4 separate regions of the Homo sapiens genome follow, and all the other regions are linked to region 4. The links are contacts of gene promoters, found by promoter capture Hi-C in blood cells and fetal thymus (Javierre and others, 2016). All regions are on one chromosome and are shown on one strand. Each heading gives the region's core, a stretch centred on a gene start or on the middle of the fragment in contact. The rest is flanking DNA. Distances are from core to core; before and after follow the strand shown. Region 1 overlaps MIGA1 (mitoguardin 1). Region 2 has its middle 10 kb from the start of DNAJB4. Region 3 overlaps MIGA1 (mitoguardin 1). Region 4 holds the start of MSH4 (mutS homolog 4).

Region 1 (3,663 bases), core at 1,026-3,525, 2.0 Mb after region 4:
CTCTTGCTGGCATATCCTATTATTATTAATTATTATTATTATTTGAGACAGGGTCTTGCTCTGTTGCTTGGGCTAGAATTCAATGGTGCGATCATGGCTCACCACAGCCTCAACTTCCTGGGTCCAAGTGATTCTCCCATTTCAGCTTCCTGAGTACCTGGGACTACAGGCGTGAACTACCATGACTAGCTAATTTTTTAATTTTTTGTAGAGACAGGATCTCACTATGTTGCCAGGCTGGTCTCGAGCTCCTGGGCTCAGGCAGTCCTTCTTCCTTGGCATCCCAAAGTGCTGGGATTACAGACATGAGCCACCATGCCAGGTCTGGATTCTGAATAAATTAAGAACACAAAAAGAGCCTTTTTTTTTTTCTGAGATGGAGTCTTGTTCTGTTGCCCAGGCTGGAGTGCAGTGGCACATTCTTGGCTCACTGCAACCTCTGCCTCCTGGGTTCAAGTGATTCTCCTGCCTCAGCCTCCCGAGTAACTGGGATTAAAAGCGCCCGCCAGCACGCCCAGCTAATTTTTTTGTATATTTAGCTGAAATGGGATTTCACCATGTTGGCCAGGCTGGTCTCAAGCTCCTGACCTCAGGTGATCCACTCAGCTGGGCCTCCCAAAGTGCTGGAATTACAGGCATGAGCCACTGCACCTGGCCAAAAAGAGCCTTTTTTTTTTGAGATGGTGTTTTGCTCTGTGGCCCAGCTGGAGTGCAGTGGCACGATCTCCGCTCACTGCCTCCTGAGTTCAAGTGATTCTCCTGTCTTAGCCTCCCGACTACCACGCCTGACCTAAACTTTTTTTCTTAATAGCCAGATTGGACAATGTGTTAAGGATTTTTACAACTTCTTCCTTTCCCCTCAAAAAAATTCTCTGGAAGCTGGGTGTGTTGACTCACGCCTGTAGTCTCAGCTACTTGGGAGGCTGAGTGGGGAGGGTTGCTTGAGTCTTGGAAATCGAGGCCGCAGTGAGCTATGATCACACCACCGCACTCCAGCTTGGGTGACAGAGTGAGACCCTGTCTCAAAAAATAAAATAAAATAAAATAAAAAATTATCTGGAGAAGAGAATACAGAGCAAATTAACAACATACTTACCCAGCCAGCTGCGTAGAGATTCCCTGCCTGCCTTACAATTTCTGCCAACACTTTGTCCAGCTCAGAAGGAGTGAGATCCAGAGCAAAAGTGAGGATGGGTTTGCAGACCCTGACCTTTCTCTAGAAAGTCTGCGAAGGAGAGTGAACTAGTACACACCAAGAACTAGTGAACATTAATTTTATCTTATTTTCCTCTACCTGGTTAATTGCATGCAGGTTCTCAGCATTAGCCAAGTTACTCTTCCCATGGGGAGGAGCAATTGAAGAGGTGAAGGGAGCAACTTAAAATGTAAAACCAGAATAGCTGCTTCTTGGAGATTGGAGTGGAAGTCCTATATGAAATATGAAGGTGGGATACAAAAATTAGCTGGGTGTGGTGGTGTGCATCTGTGGTCCCAGCTACTTGGGAGGCTGAGGTAGGAGTATAGCTTGAACCCAGGAGGAGGAGGCTGCAGTGAACCAAGATTGGGCCACTGCACTCCAGCCTGGGCAACAGAGTGAGACTTTGTCTTATAAATAAATAAATAAATAAATAAAGGTGGGTGGGGAGGTTTAATGGTTTCCTTTGTGACATTGATTACTCTTGACAATACATTATAATTATTTATGTACATATCCAGTGTGTTATGCTAAACCTTAAACTCCTTGTGGGCAGAAGACATACTTAATTCTATTCAGTGTCTGAAACTGGTTTGAATGTAGTATAGATAGTAGTAGGTCTGTGGGTCTTCTATGATGTTTATCAGAATCACCTTCATAGGTTTTGCTCTAGACCTACTGAAATTGAAACTTTGGGGTTGGGACATGAAGCTTTGGGTTTGTATTTCCTAGTTCAGCAGGTGATTCTCATGTGCATTTCTGCTTACGAGGCCCTGCAGGTAATATCTGAATGATAGATATTTGGATGGATAGACAAGATGGGTATCATTAAGGTTTTTTGCAATAAATTTAAGTAAATGGTATAATTTCAGCTTATTAAATACAGAACTTTATTTTTAGTGAAGTAGAAATTTAAAACTAATTTTTTAAGTACATGAGGAAAATATAATGTATGGTTCATGTGTATTTTATTTTAAGCCTCAAATATATAAAGTACTACTGCCAGTAAGTCTGTTTGTCTTTTTGTTTTTTCTTTTTAAAAATTTGAAGCAGGGTCTCACTCTGTCACCCAGGCTGGAGTGCAGTGGTGTGACCATAGCTTACTATAGCCTTGAACTATTGGGCTCAAGGGATCCTCCCACCTCAGCCTTCCAAGTAGCTGGGACTACAGGCATGTGCCACACCACCCAGCTAATTTTTTTTGTATTTTTTGTAGACATGGGAGTCTTCCTGTATTTCACAGGCTGGGCTCGAACTCCTGGGCTCAAGTGGTCGTCCTGCCTCAGCCTCCCAAAGTGCTGGGATTACAGGCATGAGCCATTGTACCTGGTCCCAGATATTTAATTTTAATGTCATCACATTTTTCATTCTTTCCTATATGGTTTGTGCTTTCTATGTATTGTTTAGAGGGATAAAGATAATTCTTTTGTATTTTCCTTGGAAAGTGTTAAAGCTTTGTTTTTCATATTTAGGTCTTTATTCTTCTAGAAGTTGGTCAGGTATGGTGGCTCATGCATGTAATCCCAGCACTTTGGGAGGCCAAGGTGGGAGGATTGCTTGAGGCCAAGAGTTTGAGACCAGCCTGGGCAATGTAGTAAGACCCTGTCTCTACAAAAAAATAAGTAGAATAATTAATTTTATAAAAGTAATTAGCTGGGTGTGGTGGCATGCGTGTATATGCCTGTTGTCTCAGCTACTTGGGAGGCTGAGATAGCAGGATCTTTTGAGCCTGGGAGTTTGAAGCTGTAGTGAGCTAGGATGGCACCACTGCACTTCAGCCTTGGTAACAGAGTGAGACCCTGTCCCTTAAAAAATCTTCTAGAAGTTTTGTTTGTTTGTTTTGAGACAGAGTCTCGTTCTGTCACCTAGGCTGGAGTGCCGCGGCGCGATCTCAGCTCACTGCAACCTTCACCTCCTAGGTTCAAGTGATTCTCGTGCCTCAGCTTTCCTAGTAGCTGGGAGTACAGGCACCTGCCACCACGCCCAGCTAATTTTTTTGTATTTTTAGTAGAGACGGGGTTTCACCATGTTGGCCAGGCTGATCTTGAACTCCTGATCTCAAGTGATCCTCCCATCTCGGCCTCCCAAAGTCCTGAGATTACAGGCGTGACCCACTGCGCCCGGCCGTAGAAGTTTTTTTAAATGTATTTTATTGTTTTGTTTTTAATGTTTGGATGGGTAATTGCCTCAGCACCTCTCTTTGAATAATATATTCTTTTCTGACTGATTTGCAAAGCCCCCCCACCCCCCACCGTCATATGTCAGGTCTCTTTCTGTGTGTCTTTTCTGGGCTCTCTATTTTGTTCTGTTAATCTGTTTCCTGCATTGGTTTCACAGTGTCTTAATTACTGTAGCTTTATATAGCTTTATAATAAATCTTGACACTTGGCAGGGTGAGTCCATTCACTGTGGGGCTTTTTGAGACTTGTCATGACTATTCTTAGCCCTTTGCTTTTCCATGTGAAGTT
Region 2 (3,600 bases), core at 879-3,378, 2.2 Mb after region 4:
GATTATCCTGCTTCAGCCTCCCGAGTAGCTGGAATTACAGGCATGTGCTACCACACCTGGCTAATTTTTGTATTTTTAGTAGAGACAGGGTTTAACCATGTTGGCCAGGCTGGTCTCGAACTCCTGACCTGAGGTGATCTGTCCGCCTCAGCCTCCCAAAGTGCTAGGATTATAGGCTTGAGCCACCGCGCCCGGCCTATTTCTGAGTGTTTATTGTAAAAACTATAGTTTTTAAAGTTTGCCAGATGCAATAAAATTTTATCATGTTTAGTGCTTTATTTAGACTTTGCTCTCCCTCCAGCGAAGAATAATTTGTATAAAGCAGAAGTTGGCAAACATTTCCTGGTAAGGGCCAGACGGTAACTATTTTAGGCCTTGTGGGCCATACAGTCTCTGCTGCAGCTACTCAACTCTACCGCTGTCTGGCAAAAGCAACAATAGACATTAGGTATTACTTTATATAGTTATAGTATAAACTCCTTTTTCTTTTATTTTTTTTCTTTTTTGAGATCGAGTCTCGCTCTGTCACCCAGGCTGGAGTGCAGTGGAACAATCTTGGCTCACTGAACCTCCACCTCCCGGGTTTAAACAATTCTCCTGCCTCAGCCTCCCAAGTAGCTGGGACTACAAGTGTGTGCCACCACATCTGGCTAATTTTTTTGTATTTTTAGTAGAGATAGGGTTTCACCACGTTGGCCAGGCTGGTCTCGAACTCCTGACCTCAATTGATCCGCCCTCCTTGGCCTTCTAAGGTGCTGGGATATAGGCATGAGCCACCGTGCCTGACTTATTTATAGTATAAACTCCTTAAGGGTAGGGACTATGTATTATACTGTTTTATCCTTCATGTTACATGTAACAGTATAGCACAGTGGGGTCTCAGTAATGGTTGGCTTGATATGCTGATTTGACCTAGATAACAAAAAGTTTATATTTTTGAAATATTAATAACTTGAACATTAAAACCCATCCATTTACAGTTAATTTATTTTAGAGATATATTTTTCTCTAAATATCCTTCTTTAGACAATTATAATAGTTCAAGCTTATGCATTTGGAATTAGGTAGTCAATGGCTGAATTTTATAGTAGTTGGTAAATACTATAGGACATACGGGCTTATTTATATAAATGTTCTAATACTTATATTTGGTAGCCATTATTAAAGTCTTCGAATCATAGTTAAGTCTCCATGGTAGCAGTGGTTTCGTGATTATGTTTTAATGGATGCAGTATACGATAAAGTTAATTCATAGTTAAAGTTTGGTACTGATTTAAATTAAATCATTTGAGAGGCCAGGCACAATGGCTCACACCTGTAATCCTAGCACTTTGGGAGGCGGAGGTGGGAAGATAGCTTGAGCCCAGGAGTTCAAGACTAGCCTAAGCAAAATAGGGAGACCCTATCTCTACAAAAGAAAAAATAGCTAGACATGGTGGCACATGCCTGTAGTCCCAGCTATTTGGGAGGCTGAGTTGGGAGGACTACTTGAGCCCCGGAGGCTGAGACTGCAGTGAGCCATAATGAAACCACTGCACTCTAGCCTGGGTGACAGAGCAAGACTGTCTCAAAAAAAAAAAAAAAAGAAAAAAATTATTTGAGAATTGTAAACAATTAGCTAAACAAACTTGCTAAATAATCAGTTTGTTGCAGTCTTGGCTAAGAGCCTAATAATTCAATGAAACAGCTGCATATCCTCTCCTCCTCTTGGGCTACAGACATTTTTTTTCTGTGTACTCCTTAAACTACTCTCTCTCTTTTTTTTTTTTTTTAACTACTCTCATTTTTCTAATGAGCCAATTAAGATGACATCTCAGGCCACATATAAGAAAAGAGTATGAGAAGAGACATTTTAGAAAAGATAAAAGTGAAAATCACGTAGATTCCTCATTTCCAAGTGTTGCTTTTACAATTAAACATTGTGAAAGTGTATGTCAACTGAGCATGTGTAAATACATTCCTACTACCTTAAGTGTAAAGTATTATTTTGAAAAAAATTATCATATTGTTTATATGGATGAACAATGTAGTACTATTTTATAAGTAAAATAGAGTTCACCTGTTAAGACTTTATTTACCCTAAATGTGCATGTGAGAGGTATGTATGTGTGGTATACTTGGGCTGAGATTCACAGGCTGAGATTTCTGAAAAATTGGATTATAGTACTGCCGACTAGAAGGAACCACTAGATCTGCACTGTCCAACACAGTAGCCACTAGCCACATGAGACTCTTAAGCTACTGAAATGTACCTATCTGAATTGAGGTCAAAGTGTAAAATACATGCTGTATTTCAAATATTTAGTACAAAAAATAAAGAATGTAAAGTATTTCATTGATAATTTGTATTTTGATTATATGCTGCAATGATAATATTTTGGATTTACTAGGTTAAATAAAATACATTATTAAAATTAATTTCACGTTTGTTTTTACTTTAAAAAAATATGGTTTCTGGAAATGTGGCTTGCATTTGTAGCTTGCTTTATATTTCTGTTGGACAGCACTGGTCTAAATAGTGTGATCTTTCAACACAGGCAAAATGTTATAATGAAATATTAGTTTATCAAGACCCATTTAAAATGATGTAGAAACTCTAGCTCTTTTTAAAATTTTTTGGCTAATACAGTGTTTTTGGTTTTGAGACAGTCTTGCTCTGTTGCCCAGGCTTGAAGTGCAGTGGTGTCGTGATCATGGCTTATTGCAGCCTCATCTCCCTGGGCTCAAGTGATCCTCCTGCCTCAGCCTCCCAAGTAGCTAGGACTACAGGTGCATGCCACTACATCTGGCTAATCTGTTTTATTTTTTGTAGATACGAGGTCTCACTATGTTGCTCAGCTGGTCTTGAACTCCTAGACTCAAGTGATCCTTTTGCCTTGGCTTCCTAAAGTACTGGGATTACAAGTGTGAGCTATCACCCTGGGCCTAACTCAGTGTTTAAAATCAGTGTAAAGAACACTTTATTTTAAATTAGCTGGGTGTGGTGGCACATGCCTGTAGTCCCAGCTACTTGGGAGGCTGAAATAGGAGAATCACTTGAACCCGGGAGGCGGAGGTTACAGTGAGCCCAGACTGTGCCATTGCACTCCAGCCTGGGCAACAGAGTGAGATTCTGTCTCAAAAAACAAAACAAAACAAAAAAAGAACTCTTTAAATTATTTCAAAATGCCAGAAAAGTATATTAGCTCGCCATACATTCACTAGTCATTAGCAAGCTTTCAAGGACTTATTGTAAAAGAGGGTAACAAAGAAGGGCTAGTTGTTGCTTGAATATTTTATTCATCCCAGTTAGAATAAGTTAGTTCTATACTCCCCAAAAAAGGAAATGATATATATATTTTTTGGATACAGGGTCTTATTGTGTCACTCAGGTTTGAATACAGTGGCATGATCACGGCTCACCTGCAGCCTTGACCTCCTGGACCCAAGCCATCCCCCTGCCTGAGCCTCCTGAGTAGCTGGGACTACAGGCACATGCCACCATGCCTGGCTGATTTGTAAATTTTTTGTAGGGATGGAATTCTCACTTTGTTACCCAGGCTAGTCTCAAACTCCTGGGCTCAAGTGATCCTCTCACCTCGTGCTTCTAAAGTGCTGGGA
Region 3 (3,397 bases), core at 488-2,987, 2.0 Mb after region 4:
GGTTTTATTAGTTTTCCTTCCAAAAAAAAAAACCAGCTGTTGGTCTTATTGATTTCTGCTTTAATCTTTATAATGCTTCCTATATCCTGCTTGTTTTAGGTTGAATTTGTACTTCTTTTTCTAGAATCTTAAGTCGAAAGCTTAGATTACTGATTTGATATCTTTCCTTTTTTAATATAAGCATTTAATGGCATAAATTTCTCTCTAAAGTTAAAGATGCATCCACAGTTTAAGGCTTTTGTTCTTTAATGGGGATAGAGGAGAAAGGTTATGGTGCTGGTTCATGCCCTCCACAGAAGCTGCTGTTTCCCTCCCTCTGTACCATTAGGGAGACTTTTGTAGGACTCTTTCAGTATTTTCTACGAGTGCCTGGTGATTCTTGATGATAAGATATGCAAGAAAGGTGTGGATTTCACCTACATTTGCAGCACCTCTCTCCAGCCTCTCAACAGTGTATTCTTTCTCCACCAGATTTGAAACGATGCTTGCTGACCTCTTCTTGCTAACGTCATGCTATGTCTTGTCCGTGTAAGCCAATGCTAATGTCTTACCTCTCTGCAAATGCCTGTCTCGTTAGTTTAGGGGGCAATTGGTTGCCCTCTGATCTCCGTATTCTGATGGAGTCAGAATACTTTATTTTGTTGTTGGAGGGTTGAAAGTGACATTCTTTCCAGCTCTCAACATTCCAAGCCTTTAGCTTTATTTTAGAGTTCCTTTGCTTTTAGGTATTTAATAGTGTTTGTCTCCCAAGAGAAAGTTAATCGCTTCTTGCTCTGATGTTAGTACTTATATAACTTAGTACTTGTATAACTGTATTTATCACATTATGCTGTAATTATTTGCCAATATATCTGTCTCCACTCTTAGCACACTGCTTGAGGGAAATAGAAGAGTATACGCAAAATGCAAGATCTGTGACCTCTGTATACATAGTGCTTCCTGATTGGTTGTAGGCACTTATTATGTGCTCATAGAATAGAATTACAGTAAGATTTTAATTTATAACACAGTCCTGGTACTTTAAGATTCTGAAGAAATATTTGTTAAATAATTTGTGAATAAAATGGCTTATTTAGAAAGTATTTAGAAATGGATTTAGCTTCTATTTCCTCAGATTTCCAGATAGTTTTTTTTAAAGCTCAGTTTAATCATCCCTGTAAAAAATCTTGCTGTGATTCAGACAGAAGATTCAGTTGCGTGAATTAATCCTTAATTGCTCAAAAAATATTAACGGGGTTGAATTATTTTCTGCTCCTATTGACTTTGGGGTAATATTGTTTACCTGAGATCTTCAGAGTAGTGAGTAATAAATTACAACATTTAAGATATTTTTTAAAAAATCAAATTGGGCTAGCTTGTCATTGAAAGAGTGAAATGATATTCTCTTGATAGTATTTAGAAATAGGTTAGATTAAGAGTAAGTTTAGTTATTAGGTCCTTCTTTTAAGTGAACAAATTAAAGAGATTTTTTTCAATTTTAACTGAATCTTTTCCAGATCAAATTTTCTCCGGTGGCTAAAAAGTTGTTTGTGGTAACTGCAGTGAGTGCTATATCTGTAATTTTTCTGGCTCATCACTTTAAAAGAAAACGTGGAAAGAAGAAAGGAAAAATATTACCATGGGAACCAGAGCACCTCATACTTGAATACACTAAAAGAGCAGCATCAGACAAAGGTATGTGGAAATAGTTGAAGTAAGTGTACAAAAGTGTGTAAATCATAACTGGAATACAGTGATTTTGGTCTTTTAGTCTCCAGAATTTTCTTCCTAATATATTATTTAACTCAAAAGTAGTACAGATTTATTTTAGAAAGATTAGAAAATGTAGATAAGCAAACAAAAAATTAAAATTACTTGACATTCTGGTACCCAGAAATAACTACTGATAATACTTTCATGTATATCAGTCCACTTATATTTGTATTTAAATGTCATATTGAGACATAAAATGTTATATACAAGTAAATTATTTATGTATTTTAAGTAAAATTGTAATCAGACATTTTGTAACCTGCTTTTAAGATATTTGACAGTGTGGAAGAATGTCTTTCCAGGTCAATAAATATCCCTCTGTGCTATCATTTTTAATATATAACTAGTGTTAATTTGTATGAATGTACCCCAATTTATTTAATCATTTCCCCATTGTTCCCTTTAGGATGCTTGTGTTTTTCTTATTTTGTGTATCCTTGTCTATTTTCCTTAGTATGTAGAGTTCAAGAAGTAAGTTGCTGTCTTTTAAAGGATCTTTAATTTTTGGTAAAGATATCGTATGAATAAAAATAATTCCTTAAACATGCTGAGTTTCTTAGTTTTTTATTATTTAGTGAGTGTGTGATATGCTTTTGTGAGTCATCTGTCCAGCATACAATTAATGAGTGACTATTTCGTACTGAGTGCAGTGAACATTGCAACAGTAATGATTGCTGTCACTTGCTGAGATTTTATTAGGTCTCAGGTAAGTGCCATATATTCAGTGCTTTATTTAACCTTACAGCAATCCTGTGAATTAGGATTATAGTCTTGTTATTGTTTCTATATTCTACATAAAGAAAACTGAGATATGCAAAAGCTAAGTGACTTGCCCAAGGTCATATAATTTATAAGTGCCGGGATTTGAATCCAGGAACATCTTAACTGCTGCATTAAGAAAAACTTGTGCAGCATGGTGACTCGTTACTATAATTCCAGCACTTTGGGAGGCCAAAGCAGGAGGATGGCTTGAGCCCAGTAGTTTAAACCAGCCTGGACAACATAGTGGGACCACATCTTTACAAAAATAACAATAAAAAAATTGTTTTTTTTGGTGTGGTGGCACAGCTAGCTAGTCCCAGCTACTCGGGAGGCTGAAGTGGGAGGATCACCTGACCCAGGACGTCAGTGCTGCAGTGAGACATGATTGCACCACTGCACTCCAGCCAGGGTGACAGAGTGAGATCTTTTCTCAAAAAAAGGAAAAAAAAAAACCAAGAAACTAATGTCAGTCTTAGAAGAATGGATAGATGAGTAGAAGAGGCAGAAGTATAACTAATTTCAATGCAATGAGATTTGGGTAAGGTTTAGATGTAATTCAGAAAAGGAAATGCCTGTATTTTGTTAAATTTACAGTTTAACAAAATTGTAAATTTAACATAGTCACCAGTATTTTTATACTGGTTACAATAGACCATTCAAATACCATCCTAATTTATTAGGTGAATATTCTATTCTTCATTTCAGAAGCAGATTTTAGCAGTGTTGAAAAAAGATTATATAAGATTATATAAAGATTTAGATTTTAATAATGATGTACATGTAATAATTTACACAAGTGAGTGATGCATGTTTTAAAATTAGAAGCTTTCTGGGTGAATATATTATAAACTCTGAAATTTTTACCTGAAATTTATCATTGGCG
Region 4 (3,665 bases), core at 101-2,600:
GTTTCACCATGCTGAGGAGCTGGAGACCAGCCTGACCTTGTGATCCACCCACCTCGGCCTCCCAAAGTGCTGGGATTACAGGCGTGAGCCACCACGCCTGGCCTAAAATGAGTACAATCACTCTAGGGGTTTACAGTTTTGGTGAAAGTGAGGTATTCTCTATTTTTAAATTTTATTTTTTAGAGACAGGGTCTTCCTTTCTTCCCCAGGCTGGGGCATAGTAGTGCAATCACAGCTCACTGTAACCTTAAACTCCTGGGCTCAAGCAGTCCTTCCACCTCAGCCTCCTGAGTACCAGGGTCTACAGGTACCTGCCACCATGCCCACTATGCCCAGCTGATTTCTTAATTTTGGGGACAGGCACTGTCTTCCCCAGGCTGGTCTCCGGAGGTGAAGTAATCCTCTGGCCTCAGTCTCCCAAAGTACTGGGATTACAGGGAGGAGCCATCGTGCCCGATCTGAAAATAAGGTTTTTTGATGGAAATTGAGATTTTTCTCAAGTATGTTTGGAATGCCCTGTGCAATAATCATTCCAAGAACAGAGATGTTCTTAAGGACTGTTGTCACTGCATGTGGGTAAACCGCTGTGCATAACTGGTTTATTGAGATACTCAACAGTGGCAGGATTTCAGTAGTGGTGTAAATTAATGTCTTCTAATAGCTTCTGTATGGCAGTATCCAGATAATTTCGTCATGTTTAATCCATGGATCTCTGGTAAGTTGGTACTATTGGCCTTATTTAAGGAATTTTCTAAAGGTCACCACTGCAAAGCTGGAGTTTGAACTTCTAGTGTGCCATTAACTGATTTATATGTTAGAAACCACAGTACTAGAAATTGGTAGATGGGGAATTGTTAACTGAGAGATCTTACCCAGTCAGTCTTTCCCTGTTTCCTACTCTACTATGCACACAGCCATGTGCATACTATCTTTTGATAATATAACTATCTTTCCTATATTTGGTCACAAGATCAACCTTAGGTGGGTTATGCTGTGTGAGCATTACACGTTCTCATTGTGTCAAAGGCACTGGGTGTACTGTGTTGGGTGGTTTCTACATTTAAAGATAAGCTAGTGTGCTTGGACGTGTGGGAAATGCATGTAACATTTGCAATAAGGGAGATTGGGTGCTGTGAGAATAATGGGGCTAACAAATCGGGTGGTCATTGATGGGCCTTGCAGAGTTCTGGTCAGTCTGATACCTGCAGGCTGAGGATGTTCCAGTGAGGTTCATGTGGAAAGTGATGGGTTTGGGAATGGCTGGAAGCAGGGTCATAGACCTGAAGTACGTGAATCCATGTGGAAAGCTGAGCCTGCCTGCGCCTGCGCAGTGCAGCTTAGTGCGTCGGCGCGCAGTTCTCCCGCCCGTTTCAGCGGCGCAGCTTCTGTAGTTGGGCTACTGGAGGGGTCGCTCAGAAACCTCATACTTCTCGGGTCAGGGAAGGTTTGGGAGGATGCTGAGGCCTGAGATCTCATCAACCTCGCCTTCTGCCCCGGCGGTTTCCCCGTCGTCGGGAGAAACCCGCTCACCTCAGGGTCCCCGCTACAATTTCGGACTCCAGGAGACTCCACAGAGCCGCCCTTCGGTCCAGGTGGTCTCTGCATCCACCTGTCCTGGCACGTCAGGAGCTGCGGGCGACCGGAGCAGCAGCAGCAGCAGCCTTCCCTGCCCCGCGCCAAACTCCCGGCCAGCTCAAGGCAAGGAGTGATTGGGTGGAGGAGTCTCCTTGAGGCTAGAGGCCGGCAGTTCATGGAGGCTCGGGGGCACGTGGGTGGTGGTTACCACAGTGAAGTTGTGATTTGGTTGGGGCGTGAGATCTGAGTGCCCTGGGAATTTGGTGAGTCTGGGTGATTAGAAGCCTTGACTTTTCAAATTGGTTCTATTGCAAGACCTTGACTGTGGATGGCTCAGTTCTGAGAAAGGCTGAAGTATCCCATATAACGTCCCTCACAGTGTCTGACAAATGACAGTTTGTGCGTGAGTTTGCTGATAGAAGTTGTGAGCTGATCTTTGGCTGCTGAATTTAATTCTCCAAATCCTGCTAAGGTGGGATAAAATAGATTAAATTGAACATTTCATCTAATTCAGGGAAAATAATATGTTTAGTATTAAAAGAGTGGGCTGGGCGGTGGCTGACGCCTGTAATCCCAGCACTTTGGGAAACCAGGGTGGGCGGATCACTTGAGGCCGGGAGTTCCACACCAGCCTGGCCAACATGGTGAACCTCCCACCCCCATCCCCTATCTCTACTAAAAGTACAAAAATTATCTGGGTGTGGTGGCACGTGACTGTGGTCCCAGCTACTCAGGAGGTTGAGGTGGGAGGATGGCGAGTCCGGGAGGTCGAGGCTGCCGTGAGCTGAGATTGCGCCACTGCATTTCAGCCTGGGTGACACAGTGAGACCCTGACTCAAAACAAACAAACAAAAAAGATGCATGTCCTTCAAATCATTTATTATTTTGTTAGTCTCTATTCATGACAAAGCATCACCATTTTTCACACACGATTGCAACACAATGGTAAAGTAACAAATACCAAATCCAATGGTCATTTTTCAGTTCATCTCATGTGACCTTTCTGCTGTATTTAATGTTCTTAATTTCTTTATTTTTAGAAACAGAGTCTCGCTATGCTGCCCATGCTGGTCTCAAACTCCTGGTCTCAAGTGCTCCTGCCTCGGTCTGCCCAAGCATTGGGATTACAGGCATGAGCCACTGCTGCCTGGCCTATGTTTAATGTTCTTGACTGGTCTTCTCTTAAACTCTTTTAATTTGGCTTCCTTGATTCCACTTGCCCCTGTTTTTCTGCTACCTCCCAGAGAATTGCTGTGCCCACCTTTGTTCCCAAATTATGGGCATGTCATTAAAGCTTTTTTTCCTAGGCCACTTCTACCTAGATGTGACTATCTCCACAGCTCAGATCTCATCTACACTCCAGACTTACTTCAGACTGTCTTCTGAAGTTTTTATTGATGGACTAATGGATACCTCAGGCTGACTATATGATTAATTAAATTCCTCTCTGCACTTTTTTTTTTTTTTTGAGACAGAGTCTTGCTCTGTTGCCCAGGCTGGAGTGCAGTGGCATGGTCATGACTCACTGCAGCCTCAAATTCCTGGGCTCAAGCGATCCTCCCACCTCAGCCTCCCGAGTAGCTGGGACCAAGGCATGTGCCCCTACAGATGGCTAATTTAAAAAATTTTTTTGTAGAGACAGTGTTTTCCTACGTTGCCCAGCCTGGTCTCGAACTTCTAGGCTCAAGCGATCCTCCTACCTCAGCCTCCCAAAATGCTGGGATTACAGGTGTGAGCCACTGCACCTAGCCCTCAAACTCTTAAGTGTTCTTCCATCCTTGTAGCTTACTTACTGTACCACCAGAGTTATGTGGAAAATGATCTTATCATGTCCCTTGCCACTTAAATCAGTAGACCTGTATCTGCAGGTAAAAGATCAAACTCTCTAGAAGGATAGCCAAAGCAATTGGGATCGGTTTCTAATCTTTACAGATTTATCCCTCATCATTTAATATTTACCCTGCTTTCTAACAAAACTGAGCTACTTGCAATTCCTTTAAAGCAACATGAATGTTCACATTGTCAGTCTAATCCCTCTCTTCATCAGATGCTTGGTCACCCACTTATTTATCAGTAATGATAACATTCAC

What was found. The method cuts DNA at HindIII sites, captures the fragments that hold promoters and counts their contacts. A CHiCAGO score of 5 or more calls a contact.
Region 1: a contact is called between a fragment that was not itself captured here and the fragment with the promoter of MSH4 in region 4, in 1 of 17 cell types (activated CD4 T cells). The highest score is 5.3, in activated CD4 T cells.
Region 2: a contact is called between a fragment that was not itself captured here and the fragment with the promoter of MSH4 in region 4, in 5 of 17 cell types (total CD8 T cells, activated CD4 T cells, total CD4 T cells and 2 more). The highest score is 10.9, in total CD8 T cells.
Region 3: a fragment that was not itself captured here is called in contact with the fragment with the promoter of MSH4 in region 4 in 7 of 17 cell types (total CD4 T cells, total CD8 T cells, naive CD4 T cells and 4 more); the score reaches 11.2 in total CD4 T cells.

Annotation. Positions count from the first base shown.
Region 1 is chr1:77,826,450-77,830,112 of GRCh38, forward strand. The region is part of intron 7 of MIGA1 (mitoguardin 1); the gene reads left to right. Among named protein-coding and RNA genes, the nearest start is that of MIGA1, 49 kb to the left of the region's middle. The HindIII fragment of the contact is 742 bases long and covers 1,905-2,646 here.
Region 2 is chr1:77,992,827-77,996,426 of GRCh38, forward strand. It overlaps a transcript of DNAJB4 not described here. Among named protein-coding and RNA genes, the nearest start is that of DNAJB4, 10 kb to the right of the region's middle. The HindIII fragment of the contact is 2,170 bases long and covers 1,044-3,213 here.
Region 3 is chr1:77,799,835-77,803,231 of GRCh38, forward strand. It overlaps MIGA1 (mitoguardin 1), which reads left to right. Exons shown (of 16, transcript NM_001416120.1): 3 at 1,497-1,674. Among named protein-coding and RNA genes, the nearest start is that of MIGA1, 22 kb to the left of the region's middle. The HindIII fragment of the contact is 3,199 bases long and covers 139-3,337 here.
Region 4 is chr1:75,795,532-75,799,196 of GRCh38, forward strand. MSH4 (mutS homolog 4) reads left to right here and starts at 1,351. Exons shown (of 20, transcript NM_002440.4): 1 at 1,351-1,698. The coding sequence starts at 1,455. The HindIII fragment of the contact is 6,934 bases long and covers 1-2,867 here.